3 separate regions of the Homo sapiens genome follow, and regions 1 and 2 are each linked to region 3. The links are contacts of gene promoters, found by promoter capture Hi-C in human tissues and cell types (Jung and others, 2019). All regions are on one chromosome and are shown on one strand. Each heading gives the region's core, a stretch centred on a gene start or on the middle of the fragment in contact. The rest is flanking DNA. Distances are from core to core; before and after follow the strand shown. Region 1 has its middle 7.7 kb from the start of LINC01353. Region 2 overlaps LOC102723529 (a long non-coding RNA gene). Region 3 holds the start of FMOD (fibromodulin).

Evidence for each region. Contacts are between HindIII fragments. The study calls those that stand out against the background at their distance.
Region 1: a fragment that was not itself captured here is called in contact with the fragment with the promoter of FMOD in region 3 in 1 of the 25 tissues and cell types used here (IMR-90 fibroblasts).
Region 2: a contact is called between a fragment that was not itself captured here and the fragment with the promoter of FMOD in region 3, in 1 of the 25 tissues and cell types used here (liver).

What each region holds. Positions count from the first base shown.
Region 1 is chr1:203,293,336-203,296,341 of GRCh38, forward strand. No RefSeq gene overlaps it. Among named protein-coding and RNA genes, the nearest start is that of LINC01353, 7.7 kb to the left of the region's middle. The HindIII fragment of the contact is 5,946 bases long and covers 1-3,006 here.
Region 2 is chr1:203,387,697-203,390,992 of GRCh38, forward strand. The region is part of intron 5 of LOC102723529 (a long non-coding RNA gene); the gene reads left to right. Among named protein-coding and RNA genes, the nearest start is that of BMNCR, 18 kb to the right of the region's middle. The HindIII fragment of the contact is 6,096 bases long and covers 1-3,296 here.
Region 3 is chr1:203,349,806-203,353,293 of GRCh38, forward strand. FMOD (fibromodulin) reads right to left here and starts at 1,317. Exons shown (of 3, transcript NM_002023.5): 1 at 1,228-1,317. It also overlaps the pseudogene LOC100131747. The HindIII fragment of the contact is 7,092 bases long and covers 1-3,488 here.

The DNA.
Region 1 (3,006 bases), core at 444-2,943, 56 kb before region 3:
TCATAACCTTCCTGTCTCCATTCACCTCATGAGTTTTTGCCATGGGTTCCACCTTGCTTCTACACAACTCTAATGCTTCAGGGAGGCAGCTGAAACCACCTGGGGCCACCTGACTATTTGACCGAGCGAGGCTCAACCCCTGACCTCAGAGAGTTCCTGAGCCAAGAGGGAAGGAAGGAAACCCTGAAATAAGGATAGAAAGAAATGTAGAGATGATATTGATTGTTACTATCCCAGCCATTATCCTGATTACTTCTGTTGTCGTTATGGGCTCTTATGAAAGGTAAACCCAATTGAGGAAGATACTAAATGCCAACTGAGAACAACTTCAGACTCTTTGGCTCCAGTATTCCAACATAGGGATTCATATCATAAATTTCTTCTTGAGGAATGTGTGGATGTAGCGGGCTGGTGGGGGTGGGTTTTAACAGGCTAACTTGAATGCTTTTTTATATTTCACAATGAAAACTATATAATGCAGGTATTTCCCTTTTTACCTTGGCTTCCTGGAAGTTCAAAGATAAATTTAGGTGTCAAAGAAGTATCTGATTCAAACAAGTTTGTAAATATCTATCTTTCTCTTTCTTCCTCCTACTACCAATTCGTTTCTGATCTTTAATATAATATAAACACACACATAAAATCATCCTCTATGTGGTTTAATATTTTAAGCTGTCTCAAATTCTTCTTGGAAGTAAGCAAAGTATAAATTATAAGTAATAATAGTTAACATGTACTGACCACTATTATGTGCCAGACACTATTCTAAGTATTGTAAACTCATTTGATTCTCCCAACAACTCTAAGAGGTAAGAATTACTATTAATCTCATTTTATAGATAAAGAAATTAAGGCACAGAAAGCTTCAATAACTTGCCTAAGGTAGCACAGCTAGGATTTGAACCTAAGCAGTGTGGCTTTAAGGGATGTGCTCTGCCCATCGCACTAGAACAAATCCGTCAGTTCAAAAACTTAATTAGCCCATCCAGGGACACCAATGTAAAAAAGCATAATTATATGCCATCGGAGCCAGTCATCATCAAAACAAGACTGATATAAGGCCAGGTGCCTATAATCCCAACACTTTGGGACGCCGAGGTGGGCAGATCCCTTGAGGTCAGGAGTTTGAGACGAGCCTGGCCAACATGGAGAAACCCCGTCTCTACTAAAAATAACAAAAATTAGCCAGGTGTGGTGGCGCACAGCTGTAATCCCAGCTACCCAGGAAGCTGAGGCAGGAGAATAGCTTGAACACGGGAGATGGAGGTTGCTGTGAGCCGAGACCATGCCACTATACTCCAGCCTAAGCAACAGAGTGAGATCCTGTCTCAAAAAAAAAGACTAATATATCATAACAAGCAGCTCAGGCCACCCATTCTTAATCTAAATAAAGATTCCTTTCCACTCCTCCCCAACCTTATTCTTAGTGGAAGGGATGGAGGAAGTAGGATTTAGAATCCTTTCCCACCCTTCCCTAGCCCACTCTCACCCCACTACCCCAGCCCCCTTTTTAGAGACTTTCCTGACATGTCCATTGCCCTATATGTTCCTTACTTTTTTCTTCAATAATGTGGGAAAAATAATGTTTTCACTCCTTCTGTATCACTTGCACGGAGATAATTAGTCAGCTTTTTGATGGACAAAGAGCTGAACAGAGAGAATTTCAGGCAGAGCAAATAATATGAGTAAAGGTACAATAAGCTGGGCACTCAGCTACTCAGGAGGCTGAGGGAGGATGATCACTCGAGGTGAGGAGTTTGATGCTGTAGGGAGCTATGTTCATGCCTGTGAGTAAGCACAGCACTCCAGAGCCTGGGCAACATGGCAAGACCTCACTGTTGAAACTACAAAGGCACAATGGTATGAAAGTGCAAAGTATGTATTTGAGAAACACTGAGAATGGGTTAATTGAGCTTTGAGGTTGGGCCAGATTGTAAAGGCCTTGAAGGCCAAACCAAGAATTAAACTTTCAACTGTAGGGAGCCTTCAGAGCTTTTAAACATGAAAGAGACAAGACAGACCTGTAGTTTAGGAGCTCTGACAGCAGAGTATGGACTGAGGAAAGGGCAGGAAGGGAAGCACTTCAGGCAAAGAGACCACTTAGGGAACTGTTGAAACTATCCAAGAACGATCTAACAGTTGGTGGCTTCAGTGATGCTGAGTAGAAGGTATTTCAAGAGGATAACTGACAGGACTGGGCCAGTAATTGGATATGGGATCCGCTCAGGAAGTAGGGCTCCAGGATATCTTGTCACCTCATCAGGAAAATCCTCTCTTGCTGGCAGGTGATCACGTATTCCACTAGGACCCAAGGAGTCATCAATGTGAACCATAGATGACAGATTAAGAGGCAGGGTGGGTCTCCTAGCCCAATACTCTTTTGTTACATATAAGCAAACTAAGGCTCAGGGAACTCCAACCATCTCTCCCTTTCTCCTAGCTCCTTCCTCCAAACCACACGGATCCCTGGACCTGAACCCATGGTGCAGTAGAGAAGTACCTCAGGCCCAGAGCCAGGAGGCCACAGGTGAGAAGCTGCAGTACCTCTTCTTTAGACTTTTTCTTGTGTCCTCCTTTCTGAATCTGTCTTCCTCTTCCCTTCAGCCCCCATCCCCCAGGTGGTCTCTGGCTGTCACAGCTGTGATGCCAGCTTCCTGCTTGCCCCAGACACTCAGCCCCAGGAGGCCCAGCCCCATTACGGCTCTGCCAAAACAACATCTGGGGAAGCTCCAATAGGTTCAGGGCCTCTTCTCTTGTTTTTTGTCTGGAGATAAAGGGGGTTTATCCTGGGCCCCTGGGAGTGAGGATGAGGAGGGTTTACAACATGTCTGTCTTCTAAATTTGGGAAAGAGGCAATAAATTCAGCTTCAGATCTGCTTCTGTCCCAAGTCCATGTGTTCCCCTGTGAGTTTCTGGCACTTTCAGTCACACCTTCTCGTACCATAGGAGAAGGCCTAGAGGGAGAAGGTGTGGGAGGTCACATTCTTGGGGGGCCTCCAGGATAAC
Region 2 (3,296 bases), core at 156-2,655, 38 kb after region 3:
TGGCTTGTCTTTTCATTTAGTAGATGGTAATTTGTTGTACAGAAGATTATAATTTTAAGTCAATCAAATTGATTGCTCTTTTGTAGCTTACATTTTCAATATTTTTTAAAAATTTATTCCCTACACAAAAGGCATAAAGATAAATCTATATTTTCTTCTAAAAGTTTTAAAGTTTTGCTTTTGAAACATTTAGGTGTCTACTTCACCTGAAATTTATTTTTGTGAATGTTATGAGGTAGATATCTAATTTTATTTTTTTCCATATGGATACCCAATTGTCGCTGCCTCATTTATTTAGAAGTCCATCCTTTCCCCGTTGGTTTAAGAATGCCATCTCTGTTGTTTATCAGGTTTCCACGTATATGTGGCTCTGTTTCTGGGTTCTCTAATCTGTTCTGCTTGATTGTCTATCCCTGTATGAATACCACACTCTTAACTACAATGGTTTTATAACAAGTCTTCATATTTGATAGGGCAAAACTCCCTTCCTCTGTCATAGCTGGCTTTGGCTGTTTGCATTTCCGTATTATTCTATAATCAGCTTGTCAAGCTTTTTGTTTCTTAGGAGTCTCGCTGTCATCCAGGCTGGAGTGCAATGGTGCAATCTCAGCTCACTGCAACCTCTACCTCCCTGGTTCAAGCGATTCTCCTGCCTCAGTTTCCCAAGTAGCTGGGGCTACAGGCATCCACCACCATGCCCAGCTAATTTTTGTATTTTTTAGTAGAGATGGGGTTTCACTATATGTTCACCAGGCTGGTCTGGAACTCGTGATCTCAAGTGATCCAACCACCTCGGGCCTCCCAAAGTGCTGGGATTACAGGTGTGAGCCAACACGCCCGTCCTGTTTCTTAGCTTCTTACAACTGTGTTGAAGTATAATTGATGGACAAAAACTGCACATTTTAACATGCACAATTTGATAAGTTTTGACATTAATATATATCTATAAAATCATAAGCACAATCATGTAAATGACCATACCTCTGGCAGACAGACTATAAAAGGGCCCCCAGTTGTCCCCCCTCCACCTGGTATCCATGCCCTGTGAACCCCATTGTGTGGGCAGGACCCACAGCTTTTTTCTAACCAAAAGAATAAATCGCTGCTGTGATTGTTTTATGTAAGAGTGCAATTTCCATCTTGCCAGTAGACTCTCTCCCTTGCTGCCTTTGATGAAGCAAGCTGCATGCTGTGAGCTGCCCTATGGGGATGCCCACATGGCAAAGAAGTGAGCGTGGCCCCTGGCCAATAGCCAGTGAGAAACTGAGGCTCTCAGTCCAATAACCCATAAGGAACTGCACCCTGCCAATCATCATGTGACCTTAGAAGCAGATCCTTCCCCAGGAAAGCGCTGAGATGAGTCTGCAGCCTTGTGAGGAACCCTAGAGCAGAGCACCCAGCTAAGCCATGCCTAGATTGCTGACCCCTAGTAATTGTGAGATGACAATTGTGTGTTGTTTTAAACAAATTTGTAGTAATCTGTTATGCAGCAATAAAAAACTAGTACAATATCCATTATTCCCAAAAGTTTTATTATGCCTCTTTGTAATCCACCACACCTTTTCCTCCCCAACTCCATCTCCAGGCAACTACTTGTCTGTTTTCTGCTACTATAATTTAATCATCTGGAATTTTACATAAATGGACTCAAACAGTATTTACTTTTTAAAAAAATTAATTTTACTTTATGTTCCAGATACATGTGCAGAATGTGCAGGTTTGTTACATAGGTATACATGTGCCATGGTGGTTTGCTGCACCCATCAACCCATCATCTAGGTTTTAAGCTGACATGCATTAGGTATTTGTCCTAATGCTCTCCCTCCCCTTGGCCCCCACCCCCCGACAGGCCCCAGTGTGTGTTTTTCCCCTCCCTGTATCCATGTGTTCTCATTGTTCAACTCCCACTTATGAATGAGAACATGCGGTGCTTGGTTTTCTGTTCCTGTGTTAGTTTGCTGAGAATGATGGCTTCCAGCTTCATCCATGTCCCTGCAAAGGACATGAACTCATCCTTTTTACGGCTGCATAGTATTCCATGGTGTATATGTGCCATGTTTTCTTTATCCAGTCTATCATTGATGGGCATTTGGGTTGGTTCCAAGTCTTTGCTGTTGTAAATAGTGCTGCAATAAACATACGTGTGCATGTGTCTTTACAGTAGAATGATTTATAATCTTTTGGGTATATAGCCAGTAATGGGATGGCTGGGTCAAATGGTATTTCTGGTTCTAGGGTGTGTGGTAGTATCTCTTTGTGATTTTAAATGCATTCGCCTATTGGCTGATGATACTGAGCATCTTCTCATGTGCTTATTTGCCATCCATACATCTTCTTTGGTGAACTGTCTCTTCAAATCTTTTCCCATCTTTTAATTGAGTTGTTTGTCTTCTTATTGAGTTTTAAGGCTTCTTTATACTTTCTAGATACAAGTCTTTTGTTTAATATATGTTTTGCAAATCTTTTCTCCCAGTCTACGGCTTGCTTTTTATTTTTGTAACAATATCATTCCAAGAGCAGAAATTTTAAATTTTCCTCTTAACAGAATAATGCTCCACCCTCAAAGATTTCTACAACCTAATCTCTGGGACTTGTGAATATATTACCTTTCATGGCAAAGAGGAATTAAGGTTGCAGATGGAATTAAGATTGTTAATCTGCTGACCTTAAAATAGAAAGATTATCCTGGATGATCTGGGTGGGCCGAAAGTAGTCACAAATGTCCTGAAAAACAAAAGAAGAAGGAGGAAGAGGAGGTCAGAATGATGCAATATGAGAAGGGCTCAACTAGCCATTGTTGGCTTTGAAGAGGAAGGAAGAGGGTCACAGCCAAGGAATGTACGAAGCCTATAGAAACTGGAAAAGGCAAGGACATAGATTCTCCCCTACAGCCTCCAGAAAGGAATTTGGCCTTGCTAACACCTTGACTTTTAGTCCAGGGAGATATATGTCAGACTTCTGACCTACAGACTTGTAAGATAATAAATTTATGAGGTTTTTAAAAGCCATTACGTTTATATAATTTGTGACAACATCAATAGGCGACTAATACAATTTCAATGATGTCCAATATATTGATCTTTAAATTAATTTTTTTATGTTTATTCGTTTATTTTTTAGAGACAAGGTCTCACTCTGTCACCCAGGCTGGAGTGCAATGGTGTGATCATAGCTCACTGTGACCTCAAACTCCTGGGCTCAAGAGATTCTCCCACCTCAGCCTCCTAAGTACCAGGACTATAGGTGTGACCATCACACCTGGCTAATTGTGTGTGTGTGTGTGTGTGTGTGTGTGT
Region 3 (3,488 bases), core at 67-2,566:
AACAGTTTCCTTGGGCCCACTTCATCCCATCAGTTCCTAGGTTGCAGAGGAGCAGGCACCCTGGCTCATCCACAGGCAGCCTCAGGCCTCAGACAAAGAGCCACAGTGTTTTGGAGAAGCTGACCCAACTGCCCACTGCCTGGGCAAGCTGGCTGGTTCCTGGCTCTGGCCAGGAGAGAAGACGAATGGAGCGGCCCACTGCCAACAGAGCATTTTTCCATGCACAGCCCTGGGCTGTTGCAGGACCAAGGTGGCTGTCTGGAGGGCTGGCACAGTGAGCCTCTGTCTCCGTTTCTCCTTCTTTCAGACTGGGCACCTTGGCAGACAAGAGCCACCTTCCCCTTCAGACTCAGCTTTCTAGGGGCTGTGCACCCTGCCCACTTCAGCCTCTTCTTAGAGCCATGGGTGCTGAAAGGGTTTGATGGGGAGCTTATGCCTCTCCTTACCCCATCCCATCTCTTAGCAATGTTGCTTCAGGGTTGCATAGTCTTACACTGTTTCCCATAATGCTAGAGGCCCTCCTGTGCTCAGAGTTTCTGTAAGGTCGAAAGTTTCCAGGACTGCCACACTATCAGCTGGGGGAAGTTTACTCAGGAGCTACTGCTGTTCTTTCATTTCTCCACTCTAGAGAAAGATCTCTCCCTCCTATCAGTGGAGAAGGTCAAGCCAGAGGCCATCCCCTCACCTGGATTGCATCCCCACCCCAATCCACAGCTCCCTGGACATGGCCAGTTCTCAATGCTTCTTTTTATTCTCTCCTTTCCACTCCAAACACACACACACACACACACACACACACATTCTACACAAAAGTTTCCCCCTCTCCCATAATAGCATTTATGTACCAAACCCCTCTATAAGAGAGATTGCAGGGACATCCAGGTCTTGGAATACCCTTCAAAATGCCCACACTCCCAGCATGATGGGATTTATGAGTAGCAGGGAAGAAGCTTCCCTAGACAGAGGGTCCTTCACTTTTTCATGCCTGAGAATTGGAGGTCCCCTCAGCACCCATAAAGGAACTGTAAGAGAAAGGTACAGGGCTGGAACCCCTCCCTTATACACCCTCTCTGCCACTCTCCAGCATCCCTGGGGTCATGGCCCAGATGTGGAGAAGGAGGAATGAACCCTCCCTGCCTCCCCATCTCCCCTATCCCCTACCACTTTTCCTTTATTTCTTTTAAGGAACTGCTAGGGACAAACCCGAAGTAAAACGACTATACTTACCTCAAGTTGAACTTTTCAGAGAGTGACCACGTCCCTCTGTCTGGCCTCCTTGGGTTGGAGAACGTGTGAGAGAGGAAGAGAGAGAGGAGTGAAAGAGTCTACTGAGAGTGTGCGTGCCTGTGCCAGACCAGGGTCCCGCCCCAAATTCCTAATCAAATATTGTGAAAAGGGGCTGAGGAACCCGGATCCTGGTTTTTTTCAGCTCTGCTGCAGGGGCGGAGTTCACGCTCAACCACGCAAATCCTTCGGTCCGCCTGACGCTATAAAAACCACCTTTTTTCCACTCACTTATCTTCCCTGAAACATTGGCAGCCCTGGGTCCCTTTCTGCTGAATGAGTTAGTGGCGCCCTAGAAGTTATTTGTACAGTCTCTTATGAAGCGCCTGGATTTCTCATTAAAGCCACAAAGGCAGATGCAGGGATGGGGAGGGCCAGGGTTTGGTAAGAGACATCTTAACTCCTTCAGCAACCCACATGTCCCTCCAGAGAGCGAGAACTCGCGCTTCTCAGCTCCCCCTATAGACAGGTCATCAGGCTAGTGGATAAGGGAGCATGAATGACAAGGGACAGCCGGCTCTGGTTCCAGTTCTATCCCTAAGCAGTGTAGACTTTTCTAGGCTACAGGTCCTGCCCACCTCCACCACTGGAACAAAAGGAAAGGCAGGGACTCCAGCATTTGCTGATCACTGCTTATGCACTAGCATCATCCACTTCCACTTAATGCTCACAACAAATTCAGAGTTAATAACACTTACCTTGCTGGGTTGTAGCAAGGACTGTATCAGGTGATGTGTGGGAGGCTCCTGACCTGGCACATAGCTGAGGTTCACTGTGTCCTACCCATTTCACAGCCATAGAATTCCTCAGCCAGGGAAAGACAAGATCAGAAAGCTGGGCAGGAGCTGTACCATGAAAGGACTTTTGGGCGATGGAAGTGATTTGGTTTTTATTCTAAATGTTTTTGTTGTTGTTGTTGTTGTTTGTTTGTTTGAGAAGGAGTCTCAGCTGGGCGTGGTGGCTCATGCCTGTAATCCCAGCACTTTGGGAGGCCGAGGCAGGAGGATCATGAGGTCAGGAGATCGAAAAGGAGTCTCGCTGTGTCGCCCAGGCTGGAGTGCAGTGGCACAATCTCTGCTTTCTGCAACCTCCGCCTCCCAGGTTCAAGCCGTTCTCCTGCCTCAGCCTCCTGGGTAGCTGGGACTACAGGCACACGCCACCACGCCCAGCTAATTTTTTGTATTTTTAGTAGAGACAGGGTTTCATCATATTGGTCAGGCTGGTCTTGAACTCCTAAACACAGGTGATCCACCCACCTCAGTGCCCCAAAGTGCTGGGATTACAGGCGTGCGTCATCCGGTCCGGCCTATTCTAAATGTTTAAAAAAAAAAACATGTTTCAAGCAGGAGAAGCCATGGGATCTGATTTGCATGGGATCTAATTTACATTTTAAAAGCATGTAGGAGGGGCTGCTGTATGGAGAAGGGGAGGCCAGGGTGGAAGCAGGGAGGCTCCAACCCAGCCTCAAGGAGAGGTAATGGCAGATTGGACTGGTGCAATGGAAGAGAAGATCTTATATTTTAGACAGAGAACTGACAAGTCTTGCAGAGTTAGGAAAAGTCAAGGATGATTCCTAGAATTTTAGTTTGAGCAACTGGGTAGGTGGTGGTAACATTTCTTGACATGGGAAAGGTGACGTGGGACTGAGTTGGGTAGAAAACCAAAGTTACATTTTGGATATGCTGTTAGAGATGCCTGCTAGGCATTCCCCTGGAGATGCACGTAGACCGTTGGACATATGAATCTGAATCTGGAGTTTAGGGGCTGGAAGAAAACATTTGAGAACCATTATAATGTGGGTCACACAGAATCTCAATAGCTTAGATAAACTCATGTGTCCTAAATGTTCTCTCCTCAAGTATGTTAACTGGCTTATGCCAACATCAAAGAAACACCTTTATCTTAAAAAAATACCAACTGAGAAACCCTGAGATGACTTGAATTTGAAGAATTTAGAAGTGTCGAGGCAGATGGTCCTTTTGGTTTCTCCAATAGGTTTGAGCTTTTGACTTAGCGTGTGGGCTGTCAGAAAGGGCCTTGTCAGGGACCCATTCTCAGAATTTAAGAAGAGATTTCAAAAAGATGAAACCTAATGAATGAGCCTTTTCTGACCACCTACTATAGACTAGGTGGTTTACTTATGTTATCAAAGATAACAGTAGATATTTTGCATTGGAATTAGTGTTTTTTTTTCAAAGCTACTT